2 separate regions of the Homo sapiens genome follow, and region 2 is linked to region 1. Evidence: promoter capture Hi-C in human tissues and cell types (Jung and others, 2019). All regions are on one chromosome and are shown on one strand. The core of a region is centred on a gene start or on the middle of the fragment in contact, and the rest is flanking DNA. Distances in the headings are between cores, read along the strand shown. Region 1 holds the start of NBPF3 (NBPF member 3). Region 2 overlaps RAP1GAP (RAP1 GTPase activating protein).

Region 1 (6,202 bases), core at 1,199-3,698:
GACATGAAAAGCAGTAACCATAAAGGAAAAGATTGATAAAGTATAATTTCATTAAAATTAAGAATCTCAGGCCGGGTGCAGTGGCTCATGCCTGTAATCCCAATCCTTTGGGAGGCCGAAGCAGGTGTATCACTTGAGCCTAGGAATTCCAGACCAGCCTATGCAATGTGGCAAAACCCCATCTCTACTAAAAATACAGAAAACAGCTGAGTGTGGTGGTACTCCCCTGTAGGTCCCAGCTACTTGGGGGCTGAGGCAGGGGGATCATCTGAGCCTTGTGAGGTCAAGGTTGCAGTGAGCTGTGATTGTGCCACTGCACTCCAGCCTGGGCAATGGAGTGAGATCCTGTTTCAAAAAGAAAAAAAACAGAGAATCTCCATTCATGAAAAAACAACATAAAAGAGTGAAAACGCAAGCTACAGATTGAAAAAAGGGAAATGCAATACATATAAATCCTAGAAAGGAGGCATATCCAGAATAAAGTATTACAAATCAACAGGAAAACAAGCATATCAATGAAAACTGGATAAAAAGGTTTAACAGGCATGTCACAAAAGAAGACACATAAATGGCAATAAAAGATACTCAATCTCAATGAAACCACACTGATATATTACTGCACCCCTACTAGAATGGCAAAATGATTTTTAACTGACAGGCATCAGCGAGGATGTGGGGTAACCAGAATATCCTTGCTAAATGGTACAACCACTTTGGGAAAATGTTCAACAATATGTAATACTAAAGTTTTATCATTCATATACCTCTAAAACCAACAATGCCACTCCAAAAATATACTCCAGTCTAGTAATGTTCTATTTCTTGATCTGTGGTGGTTCACTTGGTCAAAATTCATTACTTTTTTTTTTTTTTTTTTTGAGATAGGCTCTCACTCTGCCATCCAGGTCGGAGTGCACTGCCATGATCACGGCTCACTGCAATCTCAACCTTCCGGGCTCTGGTGATCCTCCCACCTCAGCCTACCGGGTAGCTGGGACTACAGGCACACACCACCACACACAGCTAACTTTTGTATTTTTAGTAGAGATAGGGTTTTGCCACATTGCCGAGGCTAGTGTGGAAATCCTGGGCTCAAGTGATCTACCCACCTTGGCGTCCCAAAGTGCTGGGATTACAGGTGTGATCTACTGCGCCCGGGCCCCCTGCACATTTAAAATTGTGAACTTCTTCTGTATACTTCAGTAACTTTTCCAAGATTTCTTTGACGCAAAGTTATCAGAAATCTTAAAGCCAGCATTTCAGAATAGAAAAAAATAGCTTCTGGTTCACTAGTGAAATTTTACTAATAAAATTTAAAAACAAAAAGAAAGCTACTAACGCATATCAGCTCCAAACAGATTAAACACTACCAGCAGATCTTTAACTTCGTGAAGCACTGGGATTCATTCCTTTGGCAAAGAAAGGATGAACAACACCGTAACCCAAAGAAAAGGTACCACTGCCAGAAAAGACTTCTTTTCGAAAGCAGCTCTAGCAGCAAAAGACAGAAGGAAAGCAAGGAAACTAGGCCAAACGTCTTGGTTAACTCTTCGGTGAAAGGACGCCACATGAGATGATGATCTAAGAAGCCAGAAAGACAGACAGACAGGCACAGGGAAACCACAGCAACTCCTCGGAGTGCAAACAGCAACCCCACAATCCAACCTAGCCGAAATCCTGCGGTTCATTTGAGGCTTGCCCCGCTAGTCAGGAGGTGATTCAGTGATGGCTACAAACGCTCCTCATGTGCATCCTGGACCTGGCACACCTGGCTTGCCCATCACCAGCCTGGAGACACCGCCAGGAGCAGAAGCCCGGAGGCCAGTAAAGACCCCAACTTTGCAAGTCAGGGGCGCGAGCGCTCTCGCCTCTCAGGCCCGCAGAGGGAACCGATTTCCGGCCTCGAGGGTGGGGTGCGGAGTCAGTGTCCTCTACAGGATATAGGAGGACGTGCCCCCGAAGCTGCTCCGTCCCTCCACCCCCTGGGATGCCACAGAACACCCGCCAGCGAGTTTCTTCCCCAGCGCCCACGAGAGCTGGGCTGAGGGCGGCAGCGGCAGGCGAAGAATCCAGCGCGGGGAACTCAGCCCCCGGCGGTGCACGACCCCCCACACCCCCCACCTCCCACCCGCCCCCGCGCTCGCGCAACAAAACTTGCGACGGCCGCGCCTCGACCCAGGTGTGCGCCCGCCGGTCCCGGATTCACCGCCCGTCCAGCCTGGCGCGGCGCCCTCACCTGAGAAACGCTGGGTGGACTTCGCCGTAACTTCCCATCCAGACGGCGGCCCGCAGCCGCGCCGCCGCGCCTCGGCCCAGCTCCTGGCGCCGCAGGTTGCCAGTCCCGCGTTCCCAAAAGCACCGCGCGCAGAAGCTCACTCAGTCTCGGGATCCTCACCTACCCATCCCAGTACCGCCGCTGTCTCAACCGCCACCCAACCCCTCGCCTGTGCCTGCGCCTGCGCCTGCGCCTGCAGCCCACTGGCTCCTCAGGGTCCGGATGGGCCGCGTCAGGAGAACCCAAGGCGCAGGCGCGGCGGGGCCTTAAAGGGACTCGGCGGCCTCTACTGCACAACAGGTTCGAGCAGGTTAGGGGCCCTGCGGGCCGAGAAAAGGAGTAACCTAGGTGATGCACCGAGTGCAGCTGGGACGGGGAATCCCTCTCTGCCCTCCGCGTCTCTCTCAAAGCACCAGCCCTCGACCCTCCAAATCGCTGATTTCCCCGGCCACTTGAACCGCCCCTGCCAGGTTAAAGAAGCAGAAGACACACCCCCTCGGAGGCCCGGAGCGTCCCCGCGTGCCCACACGGATTTTATTTTTTTCTGAAAAGATGGTACATTTACATGGTTCGAAATTCAAATAGGGCCAGGCGTGAGCCCTGGAGTTCGAGACCAGCCTGGACGAAAAAGAAAGAGCCCCGTATCTATTAAAAAAAAAAAATCAAATAGTACAGAAAATTGTAAAGTTAAAATAGGCATCTTTTCCATTCCTGTCTCCCAGTCTCACCCTGTAGGCAATCTGTGGGATGCTGTTCCTGTGAATCCTTCCAGGGATATTTTATGTACGTTTTCGCTTTTTTTATTTTTATTTTTTTTTTTGAGATAGAGTCTTGCTCTCGTTGCCCAGGATGGAGTGCAATGGCATGATCTTGGCTTCCTGCAACCTCCACCTCCCAAGTTCAAGCTATTGTCCTGCCTTAGCCTCCCAAATAGCTGGGATTACAGGTGCCCACCATCCTGCCTGGCTAATTGTTGTATTTTTAGTAGAGACGGGGTTTCACCATGTTGGCAAGGCTGGTCTAGAACTCCTGACCTCGAGTCTTGCTCTGTCACCCTTGCTGGAGTGCAGTGGCACAATCTCAGCTCACTGCAACCTCTGCCTCCCAGGATCAAGCGATTCTCCTGCCCCAGCCTCCCGAGTAGCTAGGACTACAGGCGTGTGCCACCACACCCAGCCTCCCTTCCCATTTGGCACGTGCCAGCCACGTGCCAAGTCCCAGGCCCCAAACTGGTTAGGGGTCAGGAAGAGCGTTCCAAAGAGCTCACACAGAAGTTCAATCCTATCTCTCCACCAAGGTGGGCGACACCATGGGGCTGCAATGCCTGCTTTTGTGCTTTTCAGGCACCTCCCCCAGTGCTGCCAACTGCCCTTCTGAAGGGCCTGTGTTTGCCACCCTCTGCCTTCGCACTAATTTGCTATTTCTAATCTGCTCTGGGCCAGGAGAACAGATAAAACTAGGGCCCTCAATGGTTTAGAGTTTTATAGTTCACCAAGTGCTCAAGGCACATTATCTTCTGTGAACCTCACCCCAGGCCCTAGGGAAAGACAGATCAGGACGAGCCACGTGACTGTGCAGGTCATTTAAGTTTTCATTCTCCTACCTCTAAAATGCTGAAAATAACAGGAACGACTCCATAGGACTGGTGTGAGGATTAAATATCCATGGACTGCTTAGAACAGGTCCAGCATATAGTGGCAATAACAATATTAATGAGAGCTAACATTCAGTGAGCACTTAGCATGTTCCAAAATCTGTTCTGTTCTAAGTGCTATATATAGAACAGCTTATTTGATCCTCAAAAGAAAGCTACATTTTTAAGTATCATTACTTCCCCTATCCTACAGATGAGAAAAATGAGGCATGGAGAAGTGATTTTCTAAAGATCACAAAACTGGGCTGGGCACAGTGGCTCAACCTGTAATCCCAGCACTTTGGGTGGCCGAAGCGGGTGGATCACCTGAAGGCAAGAGTTCCAGACCAGCCTGGCCAACATGGTGAAACCCCCGTCTCTACTAAAAATACAAAAATTAGCCAGACATGGTGGTGCACGCCTGTAATTCCAGCTACTCGGGAGGCTGAGGCAGGAGAATTGCTTGAACCCAGGAGGCGGAGGTTGCAGTGAGCTGAGATCATGTCACTGCAATCCAGCCTAGGGGACAGAGTGAGACTCCATCTTAAAAATAAATAGCCCAGGCATGGTGGCTCACGCCTGTAATCCCAGCACTTTAGAAGGCCCAGGCGGGAGGATCACCTGAGGTCGGGAGTTCAAGACCAGCCTGACCAACATGGAGAAACCCCATCTCTACTAAAACTAAGAATTAGCCGGGGGTGTTGGTGCATGCCTGTAATCCCAGCTACTCGGAGGCTAAGGTGAGAATTGCTTAAACCTGGGAGGCAGAGGATGCAGTGAGCCGAGATCGCTCCACTGCACTCCAGCCTGGGCCACAGAGTGAAACTCCGTCTCAAAAGAAAAAAAAAAAAAAAATTAGCCAGGCAAGGTGGCGGACGCCTGTAGTCCCAGCTACTCGGGAGGCTGAGGCAGGAGAATGGCACGAACCCGGGAGGCGGAGCTTGCAGTGAGCCGAGATCTCGCCACTGCACTCCAGCCTGGGGGACAGAGCGAGACTGCATCCCAAAAATAAATAAATGTTAATAGGCACATGTAGCTAGTGGCGACCATATTAGTGCAGAGTCACACGCATAAGGCTCGACTGGTGTTATGCCCAAACGCTGACTTATTCTTCAGTAGCCCCCAGCTCAGACCTCCCCAGCACCTGCTCAGGAGCTTCTTGGCTCTCCGCAGCCGCTGCACCTCGCGCTGGGCGTCCTCGTGGACCTGCATGGTGCCCTCGGTCTTGTCCCGCAGGCGCTACATCTGTTCCTCTAGGCCTACGTTTGAGAGCCAGGATTCCACTCCCCAATGTGCTCTCACCACCCTCTGAGCCCTCACCTCCCTGGGGTCCCGGACAACTCCAATCAAAGCCCCCACCCACCCACCGATGCCAGACAAACCCCCAGGCACACTCCTCTCCTGGGTTCTGACACCACCCCGAGGGCTCCCAGGCTCCTCCCCCTTGCATCCTGGTTCCACTCTCAGACTCCTCCCTACCCTGGCTCTGCCCCTAGTTCCCAAGCTCTGATTTCCCTTGCTAGACCTTTTCCCAGGGTCCTGGCTCTGCATGACCAGGGACCTGTCTCCCTCTCTACCAGGACCCTAACACTGCCGCAGCCTCCTCCTTCCACCAGCTGCCCAAGCACCCACCCCCAGCTGCCCAAGCACCCCCACTTCTGGGCTCGGCTTCACCACAGAGCTCTCGGCCACCTCCTTGGGGATCCTGACACTCTCAGACACTATTTCTCAGGGCTCTGGCTGCACCCCAGGGCGCTCAGACTCCTCCGCCGGACCTCCCCGGACCCGTCCCCGCCCCCACCCGGAGGGCGCGAGCCCCTCCCCCCGGGCCTCTGGCTGCACCCAGAACGCTCAAGCCCCTTCCTACCTGGACCTGCAGCTGGTGCTTGTGCAAGGCGGAGTGGATCAGGGCGAGGGCGGAGGAGTCTGAGCAGGCCGGGGAGGGGCCTCGGCGGGGCGAACGGCCTCTGCCTGGCGAGTAGCACCGCGGTGGGGACGGGGTCCGCTGGCCCCAGAGTCCCCGCAGGCTGCGCTCCGACGCATCCACGGTGCACTTGGAGCCGCTCAGCTGGACGCCGCTCTCAGCCTCGGACAGGACGGCCTGAGGGTAGAGGAGGGAGGCAGAAGGAGGCCGCAGAGCTAGGAACCGTGGGGTTGGCTGGGCAAAGACGCCTAGGCGAGGCTGGGGGCCGCCTCATCCCAAATGCTGCCTCCTACAAGAAGCCTTCCTGATTTCACCTCCTCCACTAACTCAGCCCTCAGCTCGCCGCTGAGGCCTCCCGTTTATTGCAAAG
Region 2 (6,239 bases), core at 2,953-5,452, 210 kb before region 1:
TCTTCGTGTCTAAAATGGGGAAACTGCAGCGCCACTTACCCTGCCTAGGTGAGACAAACCGTAGACCCTGGTACCCAGACTCGTCATTTCCCAGGGGATGCTGGAGCTCACCAAGCCCAGGCCCGGGTCCCAGGTGGAACAGCTCCGGAAAGGCGTCTGCAGAATCCCTGCTGCCCTGTCCTTGTGCCCTTGGTCATCCTTCCTCCCTCATCCCCGGCTGCATCTGTGCCCTGCAGTTTGTTTAAACAGAAAATCCCATAGCAAACCTTGAGACTGTGGGGGCCTCCTTGGGTGCAGGGCCTGGGGGAAGGATCTCTCCCTCTATGGGGGGAAGACTGGGTGTTGGGCTGGAGGGCAGTGTGCTCTGGGGTCAGGGCTAGTAACCCGGTGTCTGCTGACACAGCTCCACTTGGGTGGGGGAAACAGCTTACTCTGAGGAAGAGCGCTGGACTGTGAGCTCTGGGCGAGCTGGGTGCAGAAGAGCGACTTGGAGTGTTTAGTGAGCGAATGAGTACCTGCTGCAGAACTCAGAGCCCAGTTCCCTCTAAAGGTTGGGACCTGGACTGCATGACTTTTCAAGAGGGGAGTGGAGGGGGGCGTCTCCACTCCTCCCCTTTGCTCTTCCTCCTCACCAGGGCAAAGGGGAAGGGGACTCCTGGGAGAAGGGGAGACAGGTGGGCAAGGAGGGGCTATTGGAGGCTCTGTTCATTCACTCATTCGTTCGCGGGAAGGGTAGAACGCTGTCCCCCTGCGGAACTCTTGTACCCGGCATTTATTAAGCATCTGCTGTACGCCAGGGCCTGGGCCGAGCGCTTTACGTGCGTGAACTCATTTCGTCATCCCCAGGTCCTAGGAGGCCGGCGGGAGGAATCCCACTTTACAGATGAGAAAGTCGAGGGACAGGGAGGGGCGGGACATGCCCGCCGTGCAGACCCAGGCTTCTGGGAGGGAGCTCCCAGCTCGTGATGATGGGGACGGATCCGCCGAGGAGCGCGGCGGCTCGAGGGGGCGGGAGGAGGGCGTCCCTCCAACAGAGGGTCTGCGGCCTGGACGGGGGGCGGCGGCCGGGAAGGGGGTGGGGGAGGGGCTGCCCCGGGCCCCGGGCCCCGCAATCCCCGCCCGGCTGGGCCCGGCTCGGAAAGTCCCGCGAAGCCCCCGCCCGGCCGGCCCAGGGCGGCGCGAACAAGCGGCCCTTTCTGCGCCGGCGGCCCCCGGCAGCTGGACCGCGGCCCGCTGGGGCGCGGACGTATCCGAGCTGGGGCGGGGGCGGGGGCGGGGCGGCCGCGTTGCCAAGGTGACCCGGGCGCGGGAAGGCGGCTCCGGCTCGCGCGGGCCGGGCCGGGCGGCGGCGGCGGCACCATGAGCGGCCGGAAGCGCAGCTTCACCTTCGGGGCCTACGGCGGGTAGGGCGTGGCGCGGCGCGGGGCGGGGCGCGTGCGCGCGTGTGCGTGTGCACGCGTGGGGGGGAGCCCGTGCGGGGTGTGCTCGCGTTTGGGCGGGTGGGCCTGGGCTATGACTGCTGTGGGGGCTGAGCGTTTGACCTCAGTGCGCGCATGGCTGTCGTGCTGTGGCGCCTGTGTGTGTGTGTTTCTGTTTCTGTGTCTGTGTGTGTTCCCATTGCGTGTCCATGTGCATGTGTGGGGAGGTGAGTGCAGGGTGGACATTGCTGTGTTTGTGTCTAAGCACATGATAGTGGCGCTTATGCATGTGACTGGGGCTGCGGGGCTACTCCGCCTGTGTGTGCGCGCGTGTGTGTGCATGCGTGTGTGCGCAACTGCTCACATGTATAGGTATGTGGGAGTAGGGGCAGGCAGGTCAGGGGGAGGTTCTGCTGGACCTCCCACTTTGCCTCTGCAGCTGTTGGGCCCCTCAGTGACGCTCTGGATAAAGGGACTCTAGAAGCCCTTAGCAGGTCCTGCCCACCCTGGGCACCAGGCTGCCCTCCTTCCTGCATCCTGGCTCTCAGGAACCTCCTCCTCCCTGGGCCACTGGCTGCCTGGGCTTGGAGGCCTGGAGGAGGTCAGAGTGGCAGCAGGTTCATCTTGGGGTCAAGGGGTGCAGAGGTGGGATGGGGATTTATGCCTGTTGCGGAGATTTGGCAAATTGGAGGGACGATGGGTTAGACAGAGTGGGCTCAGAGCCCCTGCCCAGCCAGACAAGCGGCTCCATGACCTTCACCAGGCCCTACCTCCCAGTGGTCATAGGGACCCATGGGACCCACCTTGGGGTGTGGAGCGCTGGGGCTTGTGTGTGGGCATGGTCAGTGTTCTCTGAGCTATGGGGATTGTGTCCAAGCTGCCTTCCCCTTGTGGACGCTCAACTTCTGAGGTGACCCCAGCAGAGGGTGGGGTGGGGTGGGAGGCCAGAGGCTACCCTTCCATATGGGGTCTTGCTAGCTGTCAGGTGATGAGAGGAGCCTGGGCTAGGCCCTGAGCTTCCTGGCCAGCCAACACGGGCAGCTCACAGGCTGGGTCCTGTTCTATGACCTTGGGCAAGTCCTGGCTTCTCTGACCTCACTGTCTGCAGAGTCGGCCTTCCCCATCAGCTGTCCCTGGGAGCCCCCAGCCCTGCCCTGCGGAGGACGTCCTCTTGCTGGCAGAGTTGGGCTGGGCTCCCTCCTCATCCCCTTCTTACCTCTGGGCAGGAGGCGAGTTGTTTGTTGTCCCAACAGCTGCTCAGCCCCTGCCCCCAGCGGCACCAAGGTGCCCTCAGAGGGCAGTAGGAGAATCTGGGCGGGGCGGGAGTGCTACCCACACATGCGTCCTGGGGCTGGATCTGGGTGGATTTGGGGGAGACAAAGTCTGGGGTACCCCTGAAGTCTTAGGGAGCAGGGTACGTGTGTTGGGGTGAGGGTGGGGGGAAGCTCCTCCTAGATCTCCTCCCAGATTCGCAGACATTTGCTTCCTGGGTGGATATGAGTGAACAGCTTCAGGATTGAGGCAGGCTACGGGCCTTGGGGGTGATGTTCTTTCTGCCCACCATAAACCATAGATATCCAGCAAACTTCCATCCTGCCTAGAAAGGCTCTAAGCTAGCCCCAGCCGCACCCCTACATCCTTGCCATGATCCAAGCTGCTGTAGTCACTGTCCTACTCCACCTGTCCCCCCACCCCTGCTAACACCCCACAGCCCTGCCCCCTGCCCCACTGCCCCCAGTCCTGCCTCTTTTCCTGGCTCTTTAACCCCTATGCCTTCCCATGTCCCTAATCTGACAGTCAGGCGACTGCAGCCTAAGGGTGATAGTGACTGCATCAGGCATCCTTAGAAACAGGACCTTCTCCAGCCCCTCTGGGAGGGTGGTGCAGTGCAGGTGGGTGTGATATGCTGGGCCAAGCTGGTGAGAAGGGATGTCCCCTCACCTATGGCCCCTCTTGTTGTGTTTCAGGGTGGACAAGTCCTTCACTTCTCGCCGGAGTGTGTGGTGAGTACTGGGGACTCTCAGGAGGGCCTGGGTTTCCTTGGCTGGTCCCTGCAGATACCCCCAATCCATTCCTACCCCTGCGATGCCAGGCCAGACCTTACCAAGCTTCCAACCATCCTCTCAGGGCAAGGGGGTGGGCAGACCCTCTTACTGTCCCCAGAGTACTTTTTTAGAGAGCCTTGGAGGCAGGCAAAGCAGGTTTACATCTTCACTCTGCCACTGCCTGTGTGAACTTCAGCAATTCCTTAATGTCTCTGAACCTCAATTTTCTCATCTGTGAAATGGGGATTAAAATGCCTATTCATAGGGTGTAAGGTAAAAAGAACAAAACCAAAAACTGGCCCTGGCATATTTTAGGCCCTTTTTGCTTAAATGCTTCCTTCCTTTTTTTTCTTCTCTATTTCTTCCCACCTCAGGGTGGCCCCTCGCTGGGCTGGGGCTCCCTTAGCCTTTACTGACCCCCAAATCCTCTAGTTACTCCCCCCGACAGCCCTCAGAACCCCTTCCTCCCATATTTCCTGTGTCTGGGGCTGCCCTCTCTTTGGAGGAGGAGGGAACGAGGCAACTGTATGTGCAGCTTCTCAACACCAAGAGGCAATGGGTGGAGGTGCAGCCTCACCTCGGGATACATCGTGGCACCCTGATGCCCCAGCAGGCAGGTGCCTCCGGGCTTCCCTGGCATCAGCATCACGTGGGCCTGGCTGGCTGCTCCTGCTGCTGCTTCACCTCCAGCAGGAGAGCCCCCCGACGGCTCTGGCTGCTGCTTCCTGCCCCTGCTCAGGGCTGTCTGGGGTCCGTGGGTCCTGCAGTACCCCCCAGCTGCTGGGCGACTCCCATCTGGCACCATCGTCCCCGCAGAGCCCTCCTGGGAAGCCAGGCCTGGGGTGGGAGGCACACAGGGTGCCTCAGCTAAGCTCCCAGCCTGCCTTTCTATTTCCCTTTGATGCTCTCCATGCAACCTCAGGCTGCTTCCTCTCCCTTTCTGGGCATCATCTCCTGCTGCTGTGCCTAGTCCATTTGAGCCCCTCCTTCTGCAAGATGGTGTGCTATGCTCAGAGCAGGGGTAGACTGAGGGGGGATAAAAGCAGAGGTGAGGAAGATGCCATCCTTTCCTTCAGGGAGTTCAGTAATAACACCACTGACAACTGCCACTTGTTGGGCACCTGCTATGCACTGGGTACTGTAGTAGACGCCTGACGTGTTATCTCATGTAACTCTGGCCACACCTCAGAGTTAGGGACTATTATCTCTAATTACAGATGAGAACAATGAAGCCCGGAGTGGGGAAATGAGTTGCCCAAGGTCACACAAGCAGTTGGGATTTGAACCTTGATCTTCCAGACTCTGTGCAGAGCCCAAAACCTCGCCTACTCTGTCCCAGGGCCACCAGGCCACAGGGAGGGTCTGAACGAAGGATGCGCTTGAGGGAAGACTCAGAGACAGGGGCCACCCAGAAGGCCCACCCCAGGGAGCCCTAAGCCAAGAGTTAGAGACGAGGGCCCAGGACTGATTGTAACTGGCCAGCTGTGTGACTTTGGGCGAGTCCCATCCCCTCTCTGGGCTTCAGTTGACCCGTCTATCAAGTAAAGATCGGCCATTCCCCAGGACACGCCCCATTACCCAAAATGCCTTGCCCGTGCTCGCCTAGCTGGAGCCGCTGTCCAAGGTGCTAACCCTAGGCCCTCCCTTCCCAGCTGCCAAAGGCCATCGCTTAACTCCAGCCCATGCGTCAGTGGTGGCCATTTTGACCATTAATCATGATCTCCTGGCATTCAAGGGCTGTCTCCACCTCCTTTTCTAGTTTGGGGCTTGCTTCTCCCGTGCTCTGTGTTTCTGATCAACGGGAACATGGCCCAGTCAGCATCACCTCCCCTTGATGTCCCTCCACTTCCATTTCCACAGGCCCTCGCCACACCTCCAGCCCAACTTTGTCACCATTTGTTGGGTGTTTTCTTTCTTGATCCCCACACCCCCATTCCCTCTTTAGAATGCCTCCTCTGCTGCTACAGAGCATGCATTCGTGAATGTTCCTGGGGTAGGGGAAAGAGCATGGCAGGTGTGGACTTGAGTCTGACAGGTGTGGACTTGAATCTGCCTCTGCCACATTCTAGTTGTGTGACTTTGGCAAGTCATTTTCCCTCTCTGGGCTGCACTTGCTGCTCAACATGTGCTTGTTGAATAGGGCATTTCCGGGAGCTGACTTCAGGTGAGCTGCATGTGTTCACATAACCCTGCAGTGCAAAGCAGGCTCTGAACTCCTTGAAAGGAGAGGTGCTTGGTCGCTTTTTGTTTTTTTGGAGACAGGGTCTCACTCTGTCGCCCAGGCTGTAGTGTAGTTGTGCAGTCTCGGCTCACTGCAACCTTCACCTCCTGGGTTCAAGTGAATCTCTTGCCTCAGCCTCCTGAGTAGTTGGGACCACAGGTGCATGCCATCACTCCTGGGTAATTATTTTTGTATTTTTAGTAGAGACAAGGTCTCACCATGTTGGCCAGTCAGGTCTCGAACTCCTGAGCTCAAGTGATCCTCCCATCTCGGCCTCCCATTGAGTCACATTTGAGCTCAACTTAGCCCCCACTTTCTCCCATAAAGGCCAGGCTGTACTTTTCTCATGTCTCTGTCCTCCACATGGTCTTGTGCAACTACCATGCCCATAAATGCTTAATGCTTGTGGAATTGAATTGAGTGTGTTCAGGGAGGGGAATAAGTAAAACCTTGTCAGTAGGCTGGGAAGGCTTCCTAGAGGAGGTGATTTTCCCCCACCCCTTTACAAAACAGGATTAAGAGGTTAGGACTTGGATTAAAGGAGCAGTGAGTCCT

The links. The method cuts DNA at HindIII sites, captures the fragments that hold promoters and counts their contacts. A contact is called where the count stands out against the background at its distance.
Region 2: a contact is called between a fragment that was not itself captured here and the fragment with the promoter of NBPF3 in region 1, in 1 of the 25 tissues and cell types used here (IMR-90 fibroblasts).

Annotation. Positions count from the first base shown.
Region 1 is chr1:21,436,383-21,442,584 of GRCh38, reverse strand. It overlaps NBPF3 (NBPF member 3), which reads right to left and starts at 2,448. Exons shown (of 15, transcript NM_032264.6): 1 at 2,237-2,448. It also overlaps the pseudogene CROCCP5. RefSeq lists silencers at 1,535-1,829, 2,795-2,844 and an enhancer at 1,804-2,314. The HindIII fragment of the contact is 9,702 bases long and covers 1-6,202 here.
Region 2 is chr1:21,646,943-21,653,181 of GRCh38, reverse strand. RAP1GAP (RAP1 GTPase activating protein) reads left to right here. Exons shown (of 25, transcript NM_002885.4): 2 at 3,386-3,421. Among named protein-coding and RNA genes, the nearest start is that of RAP1GAP, 19 kb to the left of the region's middle. RefSeq lists a silencer at 1,251-1,320 and an enhancer at 1,310-2,060. The HindIII fragment of the contact is 6,080 bases long and covers 1,163-6,239 here.